Regions from separate parts of the Homo sapiens genome. Here regions 1, 2, 4, 5 and 6 are each linked to region 3. The links are contacts of gene promoters, found by promoter capture Hi-C in blood cells and fetal thymus (Javierre and others, 2016). All regions are on one chromosome and are shown on one strand. The core of a region is centred on a gene start or on the middle of the fragment in contact, and the rest is flanking DNA. Distances in the headings are between cores, read along the strand shown.

What was found. Contacts are between HindIII fragments. The CHiCAGO score rates a contact against its expected background, and 5 or more counts as called.
Region 1: a fragment that was not itself captured here is called in contact with the fragment with the promoter of DPAGT1 in region 3 in 6 of 17 cell types (M1 macrophages, total CD8 T cells, M2 macrophages and 3 more); the score reaches 6.6 in M1 macrophages.
Region 2: a contact is called between the fragment with the promoter of DDX6 here and the fragment with the promoter of DPAGT1 in region 3, in 8 of 17 cell types (fetal thymus, naive CD4 T cells, non-activated CD4 T cells and 5 more). The highest score is 8.3, in fetal thymus.
Region 4: a fragment that was not itself captured here is called in contact with the fragment with the promoter of DPAGT1 in region 3 in 1 of 17 cell types (erythroblasts); the score reaches 5.1 in erythroblasts.
Region 5: a contact is called between a fragment that was not itself captured here and the fragment with the promoter of DPAGT1 in region 3, in 1 of 17 cell types (M0 macrophages). The highest score is 5.0, in M0 macrophages.
Region 6: a fragment that was not itself captured here is called in contact with the fragment with the promoter of DPAGT1 in region 3 in 1 of 17 cell types (total CD8 T cells); the score reaches 5.1 in total CD8 T cells.

The regions. Positions count from the first base shown.
Region 1 is chr11:118,701,949-118,705,034 of GRCh38, forward strand. It overlaps LOC105369519 (a long non-coding RNA gene), which reads left to right. Exons shown (of 4, transcript XR_007062909.1): 3 at 2,660-2,890. It also overlaps the pseudogene RNU6-376P. Among named protein-coding and RNA genes, the nearest start is that of TREH, 24 kb to the left of the region's middle. RefSeq lists an enhancer at 2,766-3,086. The HindIII fragment of the contact is 1,242 bases long and covers 630-1,871 here.
Region 2 is chr11:118,789,761-118,793,107 of GRCh38, forward strand. It overlaps DDX6 (DEAD-box helicase 6), which reads right to left and starts at 1,404. Exons shown (of 14, transcript NM_004397.6): 1 at 1,338-1,404. RefSeq lists enhancers at 4-561, 20-199, 1,510-1,619, 2,236-2,791, 3,180-3,289 and silencers at 400-479, 1,110-1,439, 1,890-2,179. The HindIII fragment of the contact is 4,863 bases long and covers 1-1,587 here.
Region 3 is chr11:119,100,603-119,103,864 of GRCh38, forward strand. It overlaps DPAGT1 (dolichyl-phosphate N-acetylglucosaminephosphotransferase 1), which reads right to left and starts at 1,251. Exons shown (of 9, transcript NM_001382.4): 1 at 893-1,251; 2 at 416-536; 3 at 28-241. The coding sequence starts at 1,053. It also overlaps a transcript of C2CD2L not described here. RefSeq lists enhancers at 379-1,092, 904-2,103, 1,286-1,595, 1,807-2,519. The HindIII fragment of the contact is 9,998 bases long and covers 1-1,619 here.
Region 4 is chr11:118,770,451-118,773,851 of GRCh38, forward strand. The region is part of intron 4 of DDX6 (DEAD-box helicase 6); the gene reads right to left. Among named protein-coding and RNA genes, the nearest start is that of DDX6, 19 kb to the right of the region's middle. The HindIII fragment of the contact is 1,291 bases long and covers 954-2,244 here.
Region 5 is chr11:119,371,550-119,374,691 of GRCh38, forward strand. USP2 (ubiquitin specific peptidase 2) reads right to left here. Exons shown (of 13, transcript NM_004205.5): 2 at 1,158-1,972. The coding sequence starts at 1,931. Among named protein-coding and RNA genes, the nearest start is that of USP2, 8.6 kb to the right of the region's middle. RefSeq lists an enhancer at 1,411-1,911. The HindIII fragment of the contact is 2,629 bases long and covers 40-2,668 here.
Region 6 is chr11:118,614,222-118,617,735 of GRCh38, forward strand. PHLDB1 (pleckstrin homology like domain family B member 1) reads left to right here. Exons shown (of 23, transcript NM_001144758.3): 3 at 338-461; 4 at 1,820-1,990. Among named protein-coding and RNA genes, the nearest start is that of PHLDB1, 8.4 kb to the left of the region's middle. RefSeq lists enhancers at 1,230-1,747, 1,748-2,264. The HindIII fragment of the contact is 5,173 bases long and covers 1-3,514 here.

The DNA of each region.
Region 1 (3,086 bases), core at 1-2,500, 400 kb before region 3:
TTTGTCTTCAGTGTTATTCGGTTTCTCTAAAATGTATTTAACATAGTCTTATTTATTCTGCTCCAGAATTGTTGTGCTGCTATACCTCCGCCTTCTTTTCCTCTTTTCTTTCTTTTTTAATTTTTATTTTTGTAGAGGCAGTGTCTCACTTTGTTGCCCAGGGCGGTCTTGAACTCCTGGGCTCAAGAGCTCCTCCTGCCCAAAGTGTTGAGATTATAGGGATAAGCCACCACTCCTGGCCCCCTCCTTTTTTTCCTGGAAATTTTTTTGGTGCTTATGATGTGCAGTAATAAAAATACGATTTTAAGTGTTGGGGATTAAATAGTGAACAAAAAAGAGAAAGTCACTATCCTCATGATAGTGATATTTTATTTTATTTTATTTACATTCACAGTGCTTGGTTCACAGCACATATGCTAAAACTGGAACAATACAGAGAAGATTAGCACGGCCCCAGCACAAAGATGATGTGCAAATTCATGAAGTGTTCCATATTAAAAAAATAAAATAAAAATAGCAATACATTTACATTTTATTTTATAGCGACAGGGTCTCACTATGTTTCCCAGGCTGGTTTTGAACTCCTGACTTCAAGCGATCCTCCCGCATGAGCCACCATGCCTGGCCTAAGCTTACATTTTAGTTAGAGAAAGAGCCTGGGAATGAAGCTAGCATGGAGAAGAGCAGAGCTGAGATTTAAAGGGAGCAGATCCTGAAGCCTGGTTGAAAGCTGCATCGTTTCCCACCTGAATTCAACCACATTCATTTTCAGTAACACGAGCAGTAACTGCTTCTTGTTGTTTAAGCCAATTTAAATATATTTCTATGTCAATTACAAATGAAAGGGTATTAACTGTTAGGTGCCCAGCCTCAGCCTAATCTAGATGTTCTTTCTCTGCAACTTTGTATCTTCACTTAATTAGTTTACTTGAAAATTAATTAAATTAGGCCTGGTGCAGTGGCTCATGCTTGTAATCCCAGCACTTTGGGAGGCCGCGGCGGGCGGATCATGAGGTCAGGAGATCCAGACCATCCTGGCTAACATGGTGAAAACACGTCTCTACTAAAAATACAAAAAATTAGCCCGGTGTGGTGGCATGCGCCTGTAGTCCCAGCTACTGGAGAGGCTGAGGCAGGAGAAGCACTTGAGCCCAGGAGGCAGAGGTTGTGGTGAGCCGAGATCTCGCCACTGCACTCCAGCCTGGCGACAGAGCAATACTCCATCTCAAAAAATAAATAAATAAAATAAATAAATAAAAAAAAACACTGACACAGTGGGGATGAAGTTTCAATGTAAATTGCAGAGAGGACAACATTCAAACCATGGTACCTAGTCATAGTATTTTACTCTTTTCTTATGCTTTTAATTCCTGAAGTATCTAGACTTTCTAATCCTATTTTATAATACCTTTGTAGTCCTTATATAACATCTGTGTTTTGGTATTTGTTTCAGGTTTTTTCCTAAGTATGTGTCAAGATCCCATTTTCCAAGTCAAAAATGGGATTTTGCTACACATTATTTCATAACCTGCTCTTTGTTTTTCACATGATAAGGAACTTAAAACAACACACATCTTTTTCTGAGGGCAGAAATTTGGGCCCAGCTCACCTAGGTTCTCCGCTTCAGAGCTTTACCAGGCTGCTGTCCGGGTGCTGGCTGGGGCTATGGTCTCATCTGAGGCTCAGCTGGTCTCATCTAAGGCTTAATATTGGCCCCCAAGCTCCCTCAGACTGTTGGCAGAATTCTTCTCCTTATGGTTGTAAGACTAGAACTGGGGTTCATGTTTTCTTGTTGGCTGTCAGCCAGGGATGGCCCTTAGCAACTAGAGACTACAGTAGTTCCTTGTTGAGTGGCCCTGTCACCACAGAGAAGCTTACTTCTTCAAAGCCAGTAATAGACGGAGAGTCTCTGACCCTCTGAGAGGGCCCAGACACTCTTTCAAAGACTTCCACCTGATTTAGTCAGGCCCACCCATGAAAATGCCCCCTTGACTTCAAAATCAACTGACTTAGGACCCTAATTATGTCTGCAAAACCCCCTCACCTTTTTCACAGTCTATTAGCTGGAAGTAAGTTGCAGGTCCTACCGGCGCTCCAGGGGAGGAGGTTACACAGGGTGTGAACACCAGGGAGTGGGACCACAGGGCCCATCCCTGGGTCTATTCATACCATGTTTACCTTTCCATGTCAGTATCTTTTCTTTTCTTGGTTTTTTTTTTTTTTTTTTTTTTTCAGATGGAGTCTCACTTTGCTGGCCCAGGCTGGAGTGCCGTGGCCCCATCCTGGCTCACTGCAACCTCTGCCTCCCAGGTTCAAGTGATTCTCCTGCCTCAGCCTCCTGAGTAGCTGGGACTACAGGCATGTACCACCACACCTGGCTAATTTTTGTATTTTTAATAGAGATGGGGTTTCGCCACGTTGGCCAGGCTGGTCTTGAACTCCTGACCTGCAGGTGATACTGCCCGCCTAGGCCTCCCAAAGTGCTGGGATTTACAGGCACGAGCCACCGTGCACGGCTGTTATTATGTTTTCTACCACCTTCTAATGTTAATGGCCTCACAGCATTCTACTATGTGGATGTGTCAACATTTATTTAATTATTTATCACTAAGCACTGAATAAACATAAACATTTTAGTTTATTCCTTTTTTTCTTACAGACAGCGCTGGGGAGAATGAACGCCTGAGTACTCATGTCTTTATGCACTGTAGTATTATTTCCTTACAACAGACTCCTGAACCTGGAACGGCAGTGTCAAAGGGTTCACAAAATGTTAGACTTCTGAAGCAAATCAGATGGCACCTTTTTTGAATAATGAAGAATCTTTACCCCTGGCATGAGGAGCTGAGGACAACTCCCACTCCACGATGTGAAGCCACAGAGTTTCGAGGTAGTGGTTAATGGTGGTTGTGATTTTTTTGTTTTTGTTTTTGAGACAGAGTCTCTGTCACCCAGGCTGGGAGTGCAGTGGCACAATCTTGGCTCACCACAACCTCTGCCTCCCAGGTTCAAGCGATTCTCCTGCCTCAGCCTCCTGAGTAGCTGGGACAGGTGCCCGCCACCATGCCTGGCTAATTTTTGTATCT
Region 2 (3,347 bases), core at 154-2,653, 310 kb before region 3:
CATGCACAGTAAGACCTCCTATATCCTTAAATCCAAAATGAGACTATGTGATAACTGCTCCCTTCTTAAACTGAAACCTGCACTGCAGCTTTTTCTCAGAGAAGGAAATATTCCTCCTACCCCTTCCCAATTTAGATTTGCAAGTTTTCTACATTTTCAAAAACAAAAAACAAAAAAACAAAAAACAAACAACAAGAAACGTAGACTAGTTGGGAGGAGCCCCTAGCGGAGTTAATTACAGCACTTCACAGATCGTAGTTAGCAATTGACAGTTTCACACCCAAAACAGTATCGTCATCGCCAACAAGAGCTTTTGTTTGCAAATGCAGCGCAGTTTTTCTAGCTTTGCCTGCAAGTTGGAGTGACTGGGTTTTATTCTGAAGGGAAATGGGGGCTGAGGAAGAGAAAGGAGAGAGATACGGGAAAGAGTCATTGACTAATGACTGGAACCCCGTAACTGAAAGGAAATTTCTTGTCCCCCCGCACCCCGCCCCACGCCCCAAACACACACACTTCTGACCATAAACACAAAAGGTTGGGGCTCTGCAATCTTATCTGCGCAATATGAGCCAGCAACCGCTCCATTAGTAGCAAACAATAGGGACTCCCCCAAGGAGGCCCCAAATGGACCCCCTAAACCAGAAATCCCCCTCCTTTCCTCCAAGAGTCGGGGGCTCCATAAATACCCTCTTGTTATTGACCCGCAAGGCCTACTGCAATCAAGCAGCGGCCGGTTTGCTTCTAAACCGAGCCCTCCAATACAGCATGTCCCTGCCGCCCCCTATAGGGCCGCCTCGTACCCTATAACCTCCACCATCATCCCCCTAAGTCCTTGCCGCCCCCTTCGGCCTCATATTCCCTCATCTTCGATAAAGCTACTCCGAGTACTTAGCCTGTTCCTCCTGCCGACCCTGCTGCGCACCACATTCCTATATTCGCCTCCTCTCAGGCGCTCCCACCCCACACAGCTGCCGACCGCCTTCCTCCCCAGGCCCGGCCAGGCCTTAGGCCTCCGCCCGAGAGTCCCCCAGAGCCGGCCCGGGGGGCTCCCCACAGCCCCCAAAGCACCGCTGACCTCGACCCCACCACCTCACCCCAAGCCTCGCGACTCGGGCCCGTGTCCTACCAACGAGGCCACTCCCGCTCGGCACCCTCGGTCCTTTATTGTTGACTCGAAGCTCCCAAAATGGCGGACGCTCCTTCCTCCTCGGAAACCTCCGCCCGCCCCCACCCAGCCCTCTCGCTACGGCCTCCTCTCGCCCCCGCCCCCGCCCCGCTCCGAGGGGCGCGCAGGCCAGCCGCCCGAGCCGCCGGCTCCCCCGGCTGTCCAGCCCTACCTCCTCCGCTGCCCGCTCTCGTGGCGCCGCCGAAGTCGCCGCCTGGCTGAGCTAACTCGGCTCCTCTGCCCCCTCCCTCGCTCGCCCGTTCGCCCGCCCGCCGCCTCCTCCCTCTTTCCCTGCCTCTCCGCATGGCGGCGACCGCGGCTCCTCCTCCACTCAAGATGGCGAAACCTCGGCCGCCGCGGCTATATTCGCCGCGGCGTCACTGCCTTCCTGGCCTGGTGGTGAGAGGAAGTCGGGCCGCGAAAGCTTCCTGAGGAGAAAATGGAGGGCCCTTCTCTCACACCGACGAGAAAAGTTCGAGGGGGAAATACGAGTTCCTTTCTGAAGGGACAGGACGGCTGCTTTTCCACAGCCGCGACGTGATTGAGAAATGGTGGCTGGCAAGGGTAGGCCTGCCTTCGCCCCTCCAAAGTAAAAATCGGGAGTTGAGACCAGAGGAACATCTCTTTATTACATGACTAAGGATATGTTTTGAAAACTGGCCCCCGGGCAGCTGCTCGGGGACAGGAAGCTGACCTGACTTCTCCAGCTGGCCGGGGAGGCTGATGCCGGGCCTAAGGGGCCGCGTCCGAGCCTCTCGGGGCGCGCCTCCATGCAGGAAGGCGCGGAACTAGCGACCCGGAGACGCCGGGCGCGCGTCTGAGTGTGGGGGCAGGAAGGGGGGCCGACCGGGCCCGGAGGCCGCACCAGGCAGGAGGGAGGACTCCAGAGAGTGCGCGGGGGGCGCTGCGCGGTGGGACGGGGCGAGCCTGTAGGGCGCGCCTGGCGGCGGGTAGGCTCCGGGCTTGAGGGTGCGCCTGGGGGCGCTGGTTGTGGGGGAAGGCACCGGGCTTGAGGGTGCACCTGGGCGGGGGAAGTCTTCGGGCATGAGGGCGCGCCTGCGGGTGGTATGGGGGGGTACACCGAGCTTGAGGGTGCGCCCGGGGGGCTCTCATGTGAAGGGTACCAGGCTTGAGGGCGCCCCTGCGGGGGGCGCAGAGGCACCGAGCTTGAGGGTGCGCCTCGGGGGTCTGCGGGGGGAAGGCACCGGACTTGAGCGTGCGCCGGGAGAGGACGGCGGGGGACCGGACTGTGAGGGCGTATCTTGGGGGACCTGTCTAGGAGGAACCGGGAGGTGAAGGCACAACTGGGGGTGAGGCGGGGGCAGGGGCCGGGCTGTGAGAGTGCGACTGAGGGGGGATTACTCCGGAGAGCACGGAGCTGGGGGCGTTGCGCAGGTGGAGTGGGGAGGCCTGGTGGAGAGGGTAGCAAACCGAGAGAGCGCACCGGGGTGGTGGGGGGAGAAGCTGGACTGTAAGGTGAAGAGTTAGTAGGGCGCAACCGTCTTCTCCTGCCCTCGAAGGGCAAGACTGAAGAAAGTAGGGGCGGAGGAGGCCGGGCCCTCCACTAAAGGGAGGGAAGCTAGTGAAGCGTCAGTTATAATAGAAATAGGAATTCAGTAAGGAAATGGAGAAGCTTAAGGCAAAGGGTGACTCTCCGGCCTGACCCTCACTATGAAGATATTTATGTATGTTCCCATAATACTTTTCAGATCCCAATGTCTGTGTTTATCCTTGACAGAAATAATAGAACTGCTGTCTTCTTCCAAGTTAAACAAAACTTTGGAGCTAAAAGCTAGCTAGGTCAAGAGAAACAAAATCTAATCCTCACCCAATTGAGAGACTGAATATACAAAGAATGGCCAAACCTAACCATGACCTCCTACCCATAACCTCTTCAGTAATCGGCCAGAAGGGTCAGGACTTAATCTTTAACCGGCAGCTTCCCTATTTCTTGCCCCTGCTTCCAGCTCTGGGCCAATCAGAGAAAGCCAAATGTGCTCCTCACACCAATCGCGTAAGAAGCCCTGCTTCTAGTATAGCCCTCCTCCAACTTCCCGATGCCAACATCCTCCAATCAGAGCCAACCTGAAGTTTCTCCCTTTTTTCAGTATATGTAAAGCTTTTCCACTCCCCTGCCTGCCTATGAGTCTGTTAAATCAAGTGATGGGTCGCGGCTGACTCT
Region 3 (3,262 bases), core at 1-2,500:
AGGGGCAGCAGTGGTAGGACTACCTACCCAAGTCCAGATGCAGGCCAAGTATCGGGCGGAAGGGCTTGGGCACCACAATGGTCGTGTTGCCAAAGTTGGTGAAATAGACCATGAGGAGAGGTAGTGAGGCAGCTGTAGGTAGCAGCAGCTTATGGCGCCAGCGCAGATTCAGTACATCATCCGCAAAGCCCAGGAAGATCATGCAGCAGATGGCAAGGAGGGCACCTATCAGGGCCACAAACTGGGGGAGGCTCGGGCAGGTCCATGACTCAAGCCTGCTCCCATTCCACCTTTTAAGAATTCCTGTCTTTTCTGATAATTTCTTAGCCCCTCCCCACAAGCCCAAATAACCCCAGTTCTCTCAGGTACCTCCCAGGTCCCAGCCACAGGCAATCACCCCCACGAACCCACTTACTTCATGGTGGGGGAATGCCTTACACTGCTCCTTCACAAAGCAGTTCAGGAAGGGGAAAGGGATGAAGCAGAAGAGGATGATAAGGAAAACAGCACCGCTGATCACTCCCTGGGATTCTGGGCTGTGGCCCAGCAGCAAGGGGGCGAGGGGGAAGAGGAAAGGGGGCGTGGTCACTCACTAGTGCAGGTGTTACAGTAACCCAAAGTGGTCTTCTCATTCCCGGTTTTTTATTCTGGTAAGTGGTGAGGGGGGCGGAGGGAGGAAAGCACCACTGCCAGAGTCCCAGATATACCCAAGGGTCCCTACCCATCCTTTCCCCAATGCGAGTAAGTTCTGCTCATCACCTCTCCGAGTTCCAGGCTGCCTGGGTTAGTTCTGAGTCTTCACGTGTGGTCAAGCACCCCGGTTCCCGCCCCTGCCCTAGCCACTCCTTCCTTAGCCCTTGCCCCCTGCCCGGACCCGTGTGCCGCTGCTCACATCTGCTGTCGGCTGGTTTTGTTGAGGTCCTGACCACAGAGGCGCGCAGCAATGAAGTGGCCCCGGAAGGCCGGGATGAGGGTGACTGTGGCCACAAATCCCAGCAGCGAGACGATCAAATTGATCAGCAGCGGCATGGGCAATTCCGAGAAGGCCCACATGGTGACCGGTCAGGGGCCCGGCTCCGCCGCCTCTTCAGGTAACGGGCAAGCTGAGCAGCAGTCCTGAGGCCTCAGCAGTATGGAGTGGCCGCTCCCCACAGGCAGGCTCTTCCCACACCAATCTGAGCAAAACCCAGCAACTCTGACTTGAGCCGCCGTCGGGACACCGGGGAACCTCTCTAAGGCAACCTATGTTCTGCCCCGCTGCACCCGCCTATCTACTGTTTCCGCCCGGATCTTGTTCGCTGAACAACCATTACTGCGGAAGGCGGCGGCCGCCATTTTTAATATGGGCATTAGAGGGTGGGGATGGAAGTGGAAGAGAAGTGTGATTCCAAATTTCATCCTATGTTCAAGAGTAGAATCACCGAGAGAGTACTGGAAACGCAATTAAAGAAAGGCAGCCAAGAACGGATACTTCCCTAACATTATGTTAAAGATGTACTACCCAGAGCGGAAATGCCAATTGCCCGGTTCCAAGATGAATGCCTCCTTGTACCACGTGTCTGACACCGCTCACATTCCGGTTCCACGTCAGTTTTAGCTCCGTCCGCCTCCATAGGTCAAGCTTAAAGGGCCCGTACCTCTCCCTTAATCTGGGATGCCTCCGGCTCCAGGAAGATGGCTATTGAAAGGCAGGGGGTGGGGAGGAGGGACGAGGGTGTGGAGACGCGCCTGTTTCTTGCAGGAAACCTGTTGCCAACATAGTCGGAAGCCAAGGTAAACACAACTCAGTTCCCGGAAACAAAGCTACGATTTGGAAGGATGGTGTAAATTCTAAAGCGTAGATCCTTGAAAAGCCCCTCCCACTCTGTTTTTCTTGTCCTCGATTCTGGTATTTTTTTCTCAGCATCCCACCCACCTTCTGCCCCAGCTGTAGCAGTTAGTTGCCCGGCAACCCAGCGCAGCACTTCACTGAGGGATTGGGAGTACCCTCAGGTCTTGGATTTAACTCGAGACTTCAGCTTGGCCGTGGATCACTGCATTGTACCTAGCTCCCACAAGGAGGAGATGGAGATTTCCAGGCTGAGGCTCTGGAAAGAGCTGAGGAGGGAGAGGAATCAGACCCACAACTGATTTCCTGTGAGTCTGAGGAACTCCCAGTCAGGTTTCTTCCTGTAGGTCACTGTGCATTTTGCTTGGCCTCCTGCAGGTTGCTGTGCATTTTGCTTGGCCTGTTCCCCTGCAAACAACAATTCACCAGCTTTTTTTTTTTTTTTTTTTTTTTTTTTTTGAGACAGAGTTTCGCTCTTGTTGCCCAGGCTGGAGTGCAATGGCGCGATCTCGGCTCACCGAAACCTCCACCTCCCAGGTTCAAGAGATTCTCCTGCCTCAGCCTCCCGAGTAGCTGGGATTACAGGCAGTAGCTGGAATTACAGGCATGCGCCACCACGCCCGGCTAATTTTGTATTTTTAGTAGAGACGGGATTTCCCTATGTTGGTCAGGCTGGTTTGGGACTCCCGACCTCAGGTGATCTGCCCGCCTTGGCCTCCCAAAATGCTGGGAGTACAGGCGTGAGCCACCACGCCCAGCCAGTTCACCAGCATCTTTATTACCTTTCATTCCCCGACAGGCTCTTAGGCGGCAAATGATTTCCATTTGTCAGAGAGGAAGTCACCACCAGTGAGTTAGGGAAAGGACTCCAATAGCCTAGCGCTTTGTCCACTCTTCCCTCTATGGCATGTTCCAGGAGTCAGGGTCATGTTGACCGTTTTTAAGCCGAAGATAGTTTCTTCTTTCCCTCAAAATCAGATGTGAGGCCGGGCGCAGTGGCTAACGTCTGTAATCCCAGCACTTTGGTAGGCGAAGGTGGGTGGCTCACTTGAGGTCAGGAGTTCGAGACCAGCCTGGCCAACACGGTGAAACCCCGTCTCTACTGAAAATACAAAAATTAGCCGGGTGTGGTGGCACATGCCTGTAATCTCAGCTACTCAGGAGGCTGAGGCAGGAGGATCGCTTGAACCTGGGATGAGGAGGTTGCAGTGAGCCGCGATCATGCCACTGCATCCCAGCCTGGGCAACAGAGGGGAAACTGTCTCAAAACAAACAAACAAACAAACTAAATCAGATGTGAAATGGCTTTTCTACTTGAAAATGGCTCTAATTAACAACAACAAAAACCCAGATATGTATAAAATACATAAATTTTCGTAATTTACTTGCTAGTATTCCACCAGATTTTCAGTACTTATCCCACTGCTATTATTT
Region 4 (3,401 bases), core at 349-2,848, 330 kb before region 3:
TAAAGCTGCTATTGGTAGAAATGACTAAATAAGCAGGATGACTTCCATCTCCCACGACAACACTCTTTCTACCTAGAGCTCCAATCACAGGATATAAATGGGTTCCATATGGTCAGAACAACACAGCTGCCAGAACAACTGTGAAAATATTGTTGTTGGCTGGGAACGATGGCTCATGTCTGTAATCCCAGCACTTTGGGAGGCTGAGGTAGGCAGATCACCTGAGGTCAGGAGTTCGAGACCAGCCTGGCCAACATGGTGAAACCCCATCTCTGTTAAAAATACAAAAATGGTCATGGTGCGCACCTGTAGTCCCAGCTACTTGGGAGCCTGAGGTAGGAGAACTGCTTGAGCCCAGGAGGAGGAGGTTGCAGTGGGCCAAGATTGCGCCACTGCACTCCAGCCTGGGCAATGGAGCAAGACTCAGTCTCACAAAAAAAAAAAAAAAGAGAGAGAAAAGAAAAGAAAATACTGTTGTCTTGTTCTTACAGCCAGCATTAAAGACTCTGCTTATTAAGGTAAAGCAAACAAAGAAGAAAACCTTGGCTTTAACCCTTTGGTCTTAAATTTCTTCCCTCATCACAGATAAGTGAACCATTATTTCCAGTTGTTCCAGAGGCTCCCATTACCCTGTCACCTCAGGTTTTCTCTTTTGTGGTTCTGTGGTGCCAGTAGTCTGTAGTTTTTAACAGGCTGCCTGCACACTACTCAGTTTTACAGTATTGAAAAAGTAAGATAGGTGGTCTCTGATGGTCTCATAACGACTTGCTGGGTCAGGTTCTTTAAAGTGTAAACCTTTTTTTCAATCAAGTGAGGCAGAACAGAATTAGACTAGAGGTATCCTAATCCCCCTTTTCAGTTCATCTTTTGACTGACTTGATTAAGGCCATTGACTTCTATTCCTTTGCCCTCTTTGACAGGGATTATACCCTACAAAAACTGTTCAAGGATAAAGCTTTAACAAAGTACATGTGATAGACTGTAAGTTAAGACACCCTGATATTTTGCCTTATATGATGGCCATTATGATTAACAGTCAGTGAATTCAGCACATCCACACTGCCTCTTACCAGTGTTTCTCAGGAAATAATGAAAAGCAAGAGAATTCAAGTCAAGTTCAAAAAGCTGTGAAATACAAGAGGAAATTATGAGGAACTGCCAGGGAGAAGGCAAAGGAGGAAGGAAACGAAAACTTTTTTTAAAACTTACTATGTGCTCAGCACAACTTTCAAGTTAGGTACTTTGTTTTACAACTGACAAAATGGATCCTAAACAGGATTAGTTTGCCCAAGGTCACAAAGCAAGAAATGCTTTAGCCAGTATTTGAACTTAGATCTGCACATAACATGTAGGCAAGAAGTTGGAGAAAATGGAACTCTCATACACTGCTAGTGGGAATGTACAGCTACGCTGGAAACCAGCCTTGCAGTTCCTCAAAAGGTTAAAAAGAGTTACCATATGAACTAGCAATTCTAGGTATACAGCGAAGAGAAATAAAAACATCTCCACACAAAAACCTGCACCTGAATTTTCATAGCAGCATTATCCTTAATAGCCAGTTCCTTCTATGTTTTTTTTTATAATAGTACAAACTTTATTCATAAATAAAACTTCATAAGGTTAAAGCAGGGTCAGTTCCTATTTTAAAAAGGGAACAGGGGAAGGCAGCCTGCTATTTTATTTAAAATCACAAGTTAGGTTTTTCAGACGGATGACAGTTGAGATCATTAAATCCCCTTCCTACTTCTCAGATTTTCACAAAATAGCACATTAAATCCTCAGTCCTTGGAAAACAACCCCAAATGTCTACCAACTGATGACTGGATAAATCAGAAGTAATAGAGCCATACAATAAAATATTATTCAGGAAAAAGGAATGGAATATTGATACAAGCTACAACACAGATGAACTCGGAAAACATTACGCTAAGTCAAAGAAGCCAGTCACAAAAAAAACACATACTATAGGATTCTATTTATATGACATGTCCAGACTAGGCAAAGCTAGAATGACAGAAAGTATACCAGTGGTTGTTTAGGGGTGTGGGAAAATGAGGTGTGACTGCTAAAAGGGTTTCTTTTGTGGGACTGATCAAAATGTTCTAAAATTTATTGTGGTAATGGTTGCAGAACTCTAAATGCACTAAAAAGCATTAAATTGTATACTTTTGATGTGTGATGTCATTTATATCTCAATAAAGCTATTACCCCCAAAAAACAAAACCCCAAAAAACCAACCCCACAAGCTTAGGGCTGACATCTGCCACCTTAGGTCTCCAAATTCACATTCACTGTAACGTTTAGATAATGACTGAAGAGTATTTGTTGTGTTTTGGTTACTCTAGTATCCCTTTACTAAGTAACACCCCAATTTCCTTCTAAGGAATTACATATGCCCTGGTCTCCCCTGTCCCAACAGACCAAGCCTCACCAATTTTCTAAGCCAAGTGGTAGACACATAGCCCACACTGGGCCAGCGGAATGTTGCCTCCTAAGAATCTAAATTGTTATAGTGCATCCATTACAGCTTCCTAAGTCCTTCAGAGCTATCTCAATTCTTAGTCATTTCCAAGTATGTTTCTCTAGCCTTCTCAATCTTGTGAATTCCCGTTATTTTTCCAATAAATTTCCTTTTGCTTAAGTTAGATCGAGTTGGTTTCTGATGCCTATAATTAAAGAATGGTTTATTTTCCAATCTCCTAGCATTGAGAGGCATTTTACAAAAGTGTGGTACCAACAAAAGCTCAACATCACCCAACTAGCTGCATTTACACTGACTGCTTCCTCTTATTTTCCAAACCTTAATTTCCAAGAGGGAAAAAAAACCTATGGTTAAAGGCCGGGCGCGGTGGCTCACGCCTGTAATCCCAACACTTTGGGAGGCCGAGGTGGGCAGACCATGAGGTCAGGAGATGGAGACCATCCTGGCTAACATGGTGAAACCCCGTCTCTACTAAAAAAATACAAAAAAATTAGCCGGGCGTGGTGGCAGGCGCCTGCAGTCCCAGCCACTTGGGAGGCTGAGGTAGGGGAATGGCGTGAACCCAGGAGGCAGAACTTGCAGTGAGCCAAGATTGCACCACTGCACTCCAGCCTGGGCGACAGAGCGAGACTCTGTCTCAAAACAAAATAAAACAAAACAAAAAAACAACCTATGGTTACTCCAGACGAGGTAGCAATGATTGTTACAAATGTCCCCTGCTTAACAGGAAAAAAAAAAAGGGAGATGGTAATTTCTAATTATATCTCTAATTTAGGCTGGGGATGGTGGCTCACACCTGTAATCTCAACCCTCTGCAAGGCTGAGGCAGGAGAACTGCTTGAGGCCAGGAGTTCAAGACCAGCCAGTGTGACAAACTGAGACTCTGTCTCCCCGACCCCACCCAAAAAGAAAACAAAAC
Region 5 (3,142 bases), core at 104-2,603, 270 kb after region 3:
TATTATCAAAGTTGCTCTCTCAAGACCTTTAGTTATGCAAGCTTCAAGGTCCTGCCCCTATTCCTGAACCCCTGCTGCATTTGTCTGGATCAGCCCTCCAAGCAGTATTTCTTGCTGTGGCATGCTGTTGTTTTCAAAATGTATTTGTCCTAGGAGTAGGGAGGGGTACATAAGGTAATGGAGGAGACACAGCATCCAGCCCTTCTGCCCATATGCTTGCCTGTCCATCTGTCCACCCGCCATCTACCCGTGTATCCACCCACCCACCACCCACACATCCATCCATCCATTCATCCCTGCAATCAGCAGGTCAGCCCCCATTGTGGGAGGCACGTGGCAGGGGATCTAGAGATAGGATTTCTTTTTCCTCCTCTGAGAGCTTGCCACCTAATGGGCACACTAATAACTACAGAAAAGGCAGATGTCGTCAGTGCCCCAAGAGAGGCGTGTGCGGGCATTAGTTGGCGAGCGAGCCCATGCCAGCCCTTGGTCAGTCTCCAGCAGAGCCTCTTCCCTCATTCCAGCTGAGGCAGGGCTGGAATAGAGGTATTGGATTGTCTCAAGCCCTAGATAAAAATTTCTCCCCTACTTTCTCCAAAGCCAGATGATAAGCATTGCTGTCTGATACCCTGGTCCTGAGTATGCCAGTGTCACTCAGAGGAGAGTCCCTCTTCCCCTGATGTCTTATGTCCAAATGTAAAGCCAGGCCTTGGGGCTAGGGAATAAAGCCTGCACAAGAGGGGAGATGCAACCACAGCAAGGAGGCCCTCCTGCCACAGGGTGCACTGGTGGTCTGGGCCCCCCCGCATCCAGCCCAGGTTGGGGCAAGGCCTGCAGGAGACACTGGCATGTCACATAGAAAAGGAGAAGGTGAGAAGAGTGGTTCATTGGGCGCAGCAGAGCATTCCTGAGAACACTACTGGACTATCCTCGAGTGCGCGGGCCCTGAGTGGGCTTTCTAGGCAGAGTGGGAAGGCCCCTCCCCTCGGCACGGAGCCCCAGGGGCACCAGATGTGCCAGGATGACTTCTCTTGTTTGTCTCCACCAGGAGCAGCCTGTCAGTCATCAGTCAGGTTGGGAGTCGAGCCCTCAGCCTGGCTGTTCTCCATCAGTGGCTGCCTCCCCAGCCTATCCCCGGTCCCCAAGGGTAAACTCACCATGCCGTCTCTTCCCGGGGAGCTGGAGCGGCTGGGCCCAGGGGCCTGACCCTTTCCCGTCTCCCACAGCGTGTAGCGGCCAATGGGTCGGTAGGTTGGGCTGATGATTTCAGGGACTCGTGAGGGAGGGGCCTGGGAGGGCACCTGAGATGCACTGCCCTTGCGACCATAGTTCTCCAGGTAGTCGACCAGGTATTCAGGGCAGCTGGCTGTCTGGTAGAGCCCCTGCAGGGTGCAGAGCTCCTTGCGCGTCCGGGCCAGCATGGGGCTGCGGCCCAGGTTCCTGGGGTCTATCCGGTAGCTATCTGAGGTCCGGAGGCTGGAGAAATCCCGGGCCAGGTCTGATTGGCTGTCCAGCTTCTGGGTTAGGGTCACCCCCTGGTCATAGGCATTGATGGGCAGGTAGCTGAGGCAGTTGTTGGTCACTCCATAAGGGAATCCGCTGCCCCCGCTGAGGCCACTGCCTAAAGGCCGCTCAGTACCCCGGGTCTGGCTCTCTGCCCGCTTACCACCCCCAGTGATGTCGGGTCTCAGCAGGGGGCGGCCCCGGTCATAGTCCAGGAGGGAGGAGGGGCCATAGGTACGGGGACGGGTGAGGAAGCTGCTGGTGGGGACCGGCTTGAAACCAAGTTTCTCCTTCTCCAGTAAGGAGGCAGCCAGATTGGCCCCATAGGAGGACGGGGTGTAGGCACCATAGCCCGACTTGGCATAGTGGGCATCTGTGTAGCGGGCCGATTCTGTGTAGCGCTTCAGGGTGGAGGAGAGCTGGGACATCCTTCAGGGTGGCACTCAGTGGGGACTGGGAGCCTCATGGGCTGAAAGACAAGGAGTGTAGTTGTCAGAGGGCCCTGCCAGGTGTCGGGCTCCCACAGACCTGCTCCCCATCCTCAGCTGGGCCAGAACCTCAGAGCTCCCAGTCCATTTCCACAAGAGGCAGGCTGGCTGCTGAGAAGCACACATGCACGCAGGTGTGCACAGGAGCTTGCTTGCACCTGTGTGTTCACACCTCGGTGAGAGTGCGAGGGATGAGGTGGCTTTTATATGCCACACAGGAAGTCAGCGCATCCTGGCCATTCAAAGACTCAAACACGCAAGCAGGGGCTATCTGACCTCCACAGCCCACCAAGCCGTGCAGTCTTCCAGGTCAAATCCCATTGCCTCAGCATCTGCAGAAACTCTTGAGCTGGGGGAATGCCACTGACCCCTGGGTTGAGAATGCTGGATATTTCAGGAGTTAAGACCACATCTGTCCCTTCTGACTTATGTGATGAGCAGGTGTCTTTTTGGAATCCTAGACTGTCTGTGCTGGAATGACCTGAAGATCATTTGGTCAGATCCCCTGTGAGGCCAAGGAGGCTCAGGGGAGGAAGTAATGGGGTGTGGGTGGGCAGGGGAGGCCGTGAGTGAGCATGCAACAATGAGGGGCCAGAACGTGGTCTCCAGACCCTTTCCCCAGACACCAGCACCTGCTGCATGGTCCCACAGTGAGGGACACTCACTTCACTGAGCTAAGCTTCTGTTCTAAGTGGAGTTAGGGCCCTGTGGCCTCCTAAGAGTTCCTCTACCAACACAGGCTTCCTCTACAAACACAGATCTCAAATTGGTCCTGGCGATGCTTGTGCAAAGGGGGCCCCCTACAGTCCCAAATCTTGCACTGCAGGTGGCATTCCCAGTCCTTCCCTGCTCCAGTCCTGCAGCTGGGGAGGGTCTAGTGAAGGAACACAGACACTGCTGAATGTGGAGCTTTGAGAGCCCCAGAGGATCATGAATTTTAATCTATCTGTTATACAGATGGGAAAAGTGATGCTTATTTGCCCCCGGCCACACACCAGCAGAGCCAGGACTGGAATCCAGGTCTTTAAAATCCTGGCCAGTGTTCTTTCTACTTAACCTGGAGTTACCTCCCCCGCATCAGATTTAGGGTCAGTTGGGGACCCCCAGAGGCCTTCCATCACCGTAAACGTGCAGCCTGTATCCAATGGAGC
Region 6 (3,514 bases), core at 194-2,693, 490 kb before region 3:
AGGGAGCTTGATTGGCCTTCCTCTACAGTACCCCTGCTGCTTATCCAATGCCACCCCCACCCCCCACCCCTTTCTCCTTGCTTCTGTTTTAATAGACAAAAGGCACAGTTAAGCCAAGACTTGCGATAAATCCAGTGGGATGAGTTAGTGGCCTAGATTCAGATCTAATTACAATTTAGTGGAATCATGCTCTGTGTAAGATTTTGTGCTAAGCCTTTCAGCACCCTCAGAGCCCTTCGGAGAGGGGCGAGGGCTGGAGAGAGTGCTGGTGTGACTGGTTTAGGGTGGTAAGGTGCTGAATCTAATGATGCTTGTCCTCCACCCGTACTACCTACAGAAAGGACCCTTGGACCTGATCGAGACAGGCAAAGGGCTGAAAGTGCAAACGGACAAACCCCACCTGGTGAGCCTGGGCAGTGGGCGACTCAGCACAGCCATCACCCTCCTGCCGCTGGAGGAAGGTAAGTGTGAACAGGGCATCTCACTCACCACCCCTCTATCCTTATAGGCATTCCTGCCCTGGAGGCCCACCTCCTGCATGTGTTGGGGCCCTTCTACTGTCTGCTGGTGCTCGCCTCCCCACACCACCAGCTTGCTTCCCTTGTCTCTGCCTCCCCAGACTGCCTGCCTTCCTTGGTAGATGATCTGGTTCCACGACTGGGCTTAAAGATCAGCTTAGAAACAAGGAGGAGAGGCCAGGTGTGGTGGCTCACGCCTGTTATCCCAGCACTTTGGGAGGCTGAGGCAGGCGGATCACGAGGTCAGGAGTTCTAGACCAGCCTGGCCAATATGGTGAAACCCCATCTCCACTACAAATACAAAAATTAGCCAGGCGTGGTGGCACGGGCCTGTAGTCCCAGCTACTCAGGAGGCTGAGGCAGAAGAATCGCTTGAACCCAGGAGACAGAGGTTGCAGTGAGCCGAGATCGTGCCACTGCACTCCAGCCTGGGCAACAGAGCGAGACTCTATCTCAAAAAAAAAAAAAAAAAAAAAAAAGAAGAAGAAAAGAAACCATGAAGAAAGCACTGAGAGAAACAGGAGAACACATTGCTCTTAGCAACCAATGTGGCCAAGAAGAAAAAGGGCCCCGCTCCAGGGCATTGTCTTGCATGGGAGGGTATACCATAGATGGAGAATGGAGAGATGGGAGTCAGGGCAAGATCTCCCAAGATGAGGCCCTGGCACAGCCCCCTTCACCTTTCAGCTTCTGCCCGCCCTCTCTACTCTCCTGGCTGCACTTGTTGCCTGGGTGATACTACATTCTCCACATTCTCCAAATACCAGTCCCAGGGGCTCTGTCAGCGGGAGGGGCTGTTCTTGCTGCAGTTAGGGGAGAGCCTGCACTGAAGAGAGAGGTTGCACTGAAGAGAGAGGTTAGCAAGGGAGACGAAGTGTTGCAGGTAGCAGAAGCGGGGGAGAGAAGAAGGAGAGAAAGGGAGATTTAGAAGAAATGAGGAGTAGGATGAAGGGGAAAAAGGATAAAGGACAATAGGGAGAGGCAGTTGGGGGAATAAGGGAAGATCTGCAGAAAAGCAGTCTTCCTTCTCCATCTGTGGAGTCTAGGTCCTACTGTGTGCTGTCTGGGTCTTCCCATCTCTGGGCCTCCCATTCTCAGGCAGAGTTTTCTCTGTTTGAGAACAGCGTCCATCACTTACTGTATAGACCAGGCTCAGGGGCCTAGTAGGGGTGGCCAGTGGTGGGCAGAGATTCTCCCTGGAGTAGGAGGTGGAAATATGTTTCCACTGTGGCCCTCCTTGCCCTGTCACTGCCTCCTCAGCCTGGACAACCCCTCTGATTCAGTTTGCCTCTTGTCTCCAGGGAGGACGGTGATTGGCTCTGCAGCCAGAGACATCTCACTACAGGGCCCAGGCCTGGCTCCAGAGCACTGCTACATCGAGAACCTGCGGGGCACCCTCACCCTCTACCCCTGTGGCAATGCCTGCACTATTGATGGGCTCCCTGTCCGGCAGCCTACCCGGCTCACTCAGGGTAAGGCTGGACACCTCCAGATGGAGGGGGCCTCTGTTTAAAGGCTTGTGTGTATTAGGCACAGGGGAGGCTGGCTGTGGTGGTTGCCATGGTAACTGCCTGAGTGACCATACTGGGAATGGAGTACTCAGGTGCATCTGGATGTGCCTAAACAACATCCCAAACCCTTTCAGCATCCAGACATGTTTTCAACCTGCTTTTCTTCTCTGGTCACCCCCAACCTGTCTCCACATACTATGGGGAGAGAAGAGGTTCTGATTCCCGCCATCAGAGGGCCTGGGGCATGATGGCGTTGTTAATGGTTGTTGGGGAAGAGCAATTGGAGCAGCAGTGAGAGGGTATCAATGGCATTGTTCCATGATGCCAAGAGGAAGTTGTTTTGAGAAGCTGGAGAGGAGGACAATACTTCCTGATGGGGATGGGGCAAGGGTAAATCTCAGGACATGCCTGCTCCTGTTACAAGACTGCTGACAGTAACTTTTGGGTCACGAATATAACCCAAAGCAATAGGCCATTCTGTTGTGTAAGGTAGCTCTAAAAACTAGGCCCCTGGCTAGGCATGGTGGCTCACGCCTACAATCCCAGCACTTTGGTAGGCCGAGGTGGGTGGATCACTTGAGGACAGGAGTTCGAGATCAGCCTGGACAACATGGTGAAACCCTGTCTCTACCCAAAATACAAAAATTAGCCACACGTGGTGGCACACGCCTGTAGTCCTAGCTACTCGGGAAGCTGAGATAGGAGAATCGCTTGAACCTGGGAGGCAGAGGTTGTAGTGAGCTGAGATGGCACCATTGCACTCCAGCCTGGGCAACAGAGCAAGACTCCGTCTCAAAAAATAAATAAATAAAAAATAAAAATAAATAAAAACTAGGCCCATAATTACTATGGTTAGCAGGCAGGTAAGCGGTTGGCCCAGGTAGCACTTTGACAGACCAGGTGTGCTCACCCTGGAAACAGGGTTCTGGGCATCAGTTCATACAGTGAGTTGTCAGATTAGGAGAATGAGAAAAACAGATTTGGGTGGAGGTTAGAGGTGAAGTTAAAGGCTAACAGCAGGACAGGAACTTTGGGCTAAGCCTGGCTCTGAGCAGGCTCTGATGGTCTGGCATTGTTTTCTGGGGGCTCTTACTGCCTAGAAGCCCCTTGGAAGTGGCCATCCTACTCACTCCACTGTCTCCTTCTCTCCTCTTCATCCTCCTTAAGGCCTTTCAATGTCACTTCCTTCACAGCTGATCCAGGAGACCTGACATTTCCCCCGTCTTTTTTTTTGATACGGAGTCTCACGCTGTTGCCCAGGCTGGAGTGCAGTGGCATGATCTCGGCTCACTACAACCTCCACCTCCTAGGCTCAAGCGATTCTCCTGCCTCAGCCTCCCAAGTAGCTGGGATTACAGGCACCTGCCACCGCCCGGCTAATTTTTTTTTTTTGACCCCAGTCTTTTCTTCCTGCCCTCGGGTAGGGGGCAGGGCATGGACAATTGACTTCAGGGAGGCAGGTCCACCAGCAGCAGTACGTAGGCC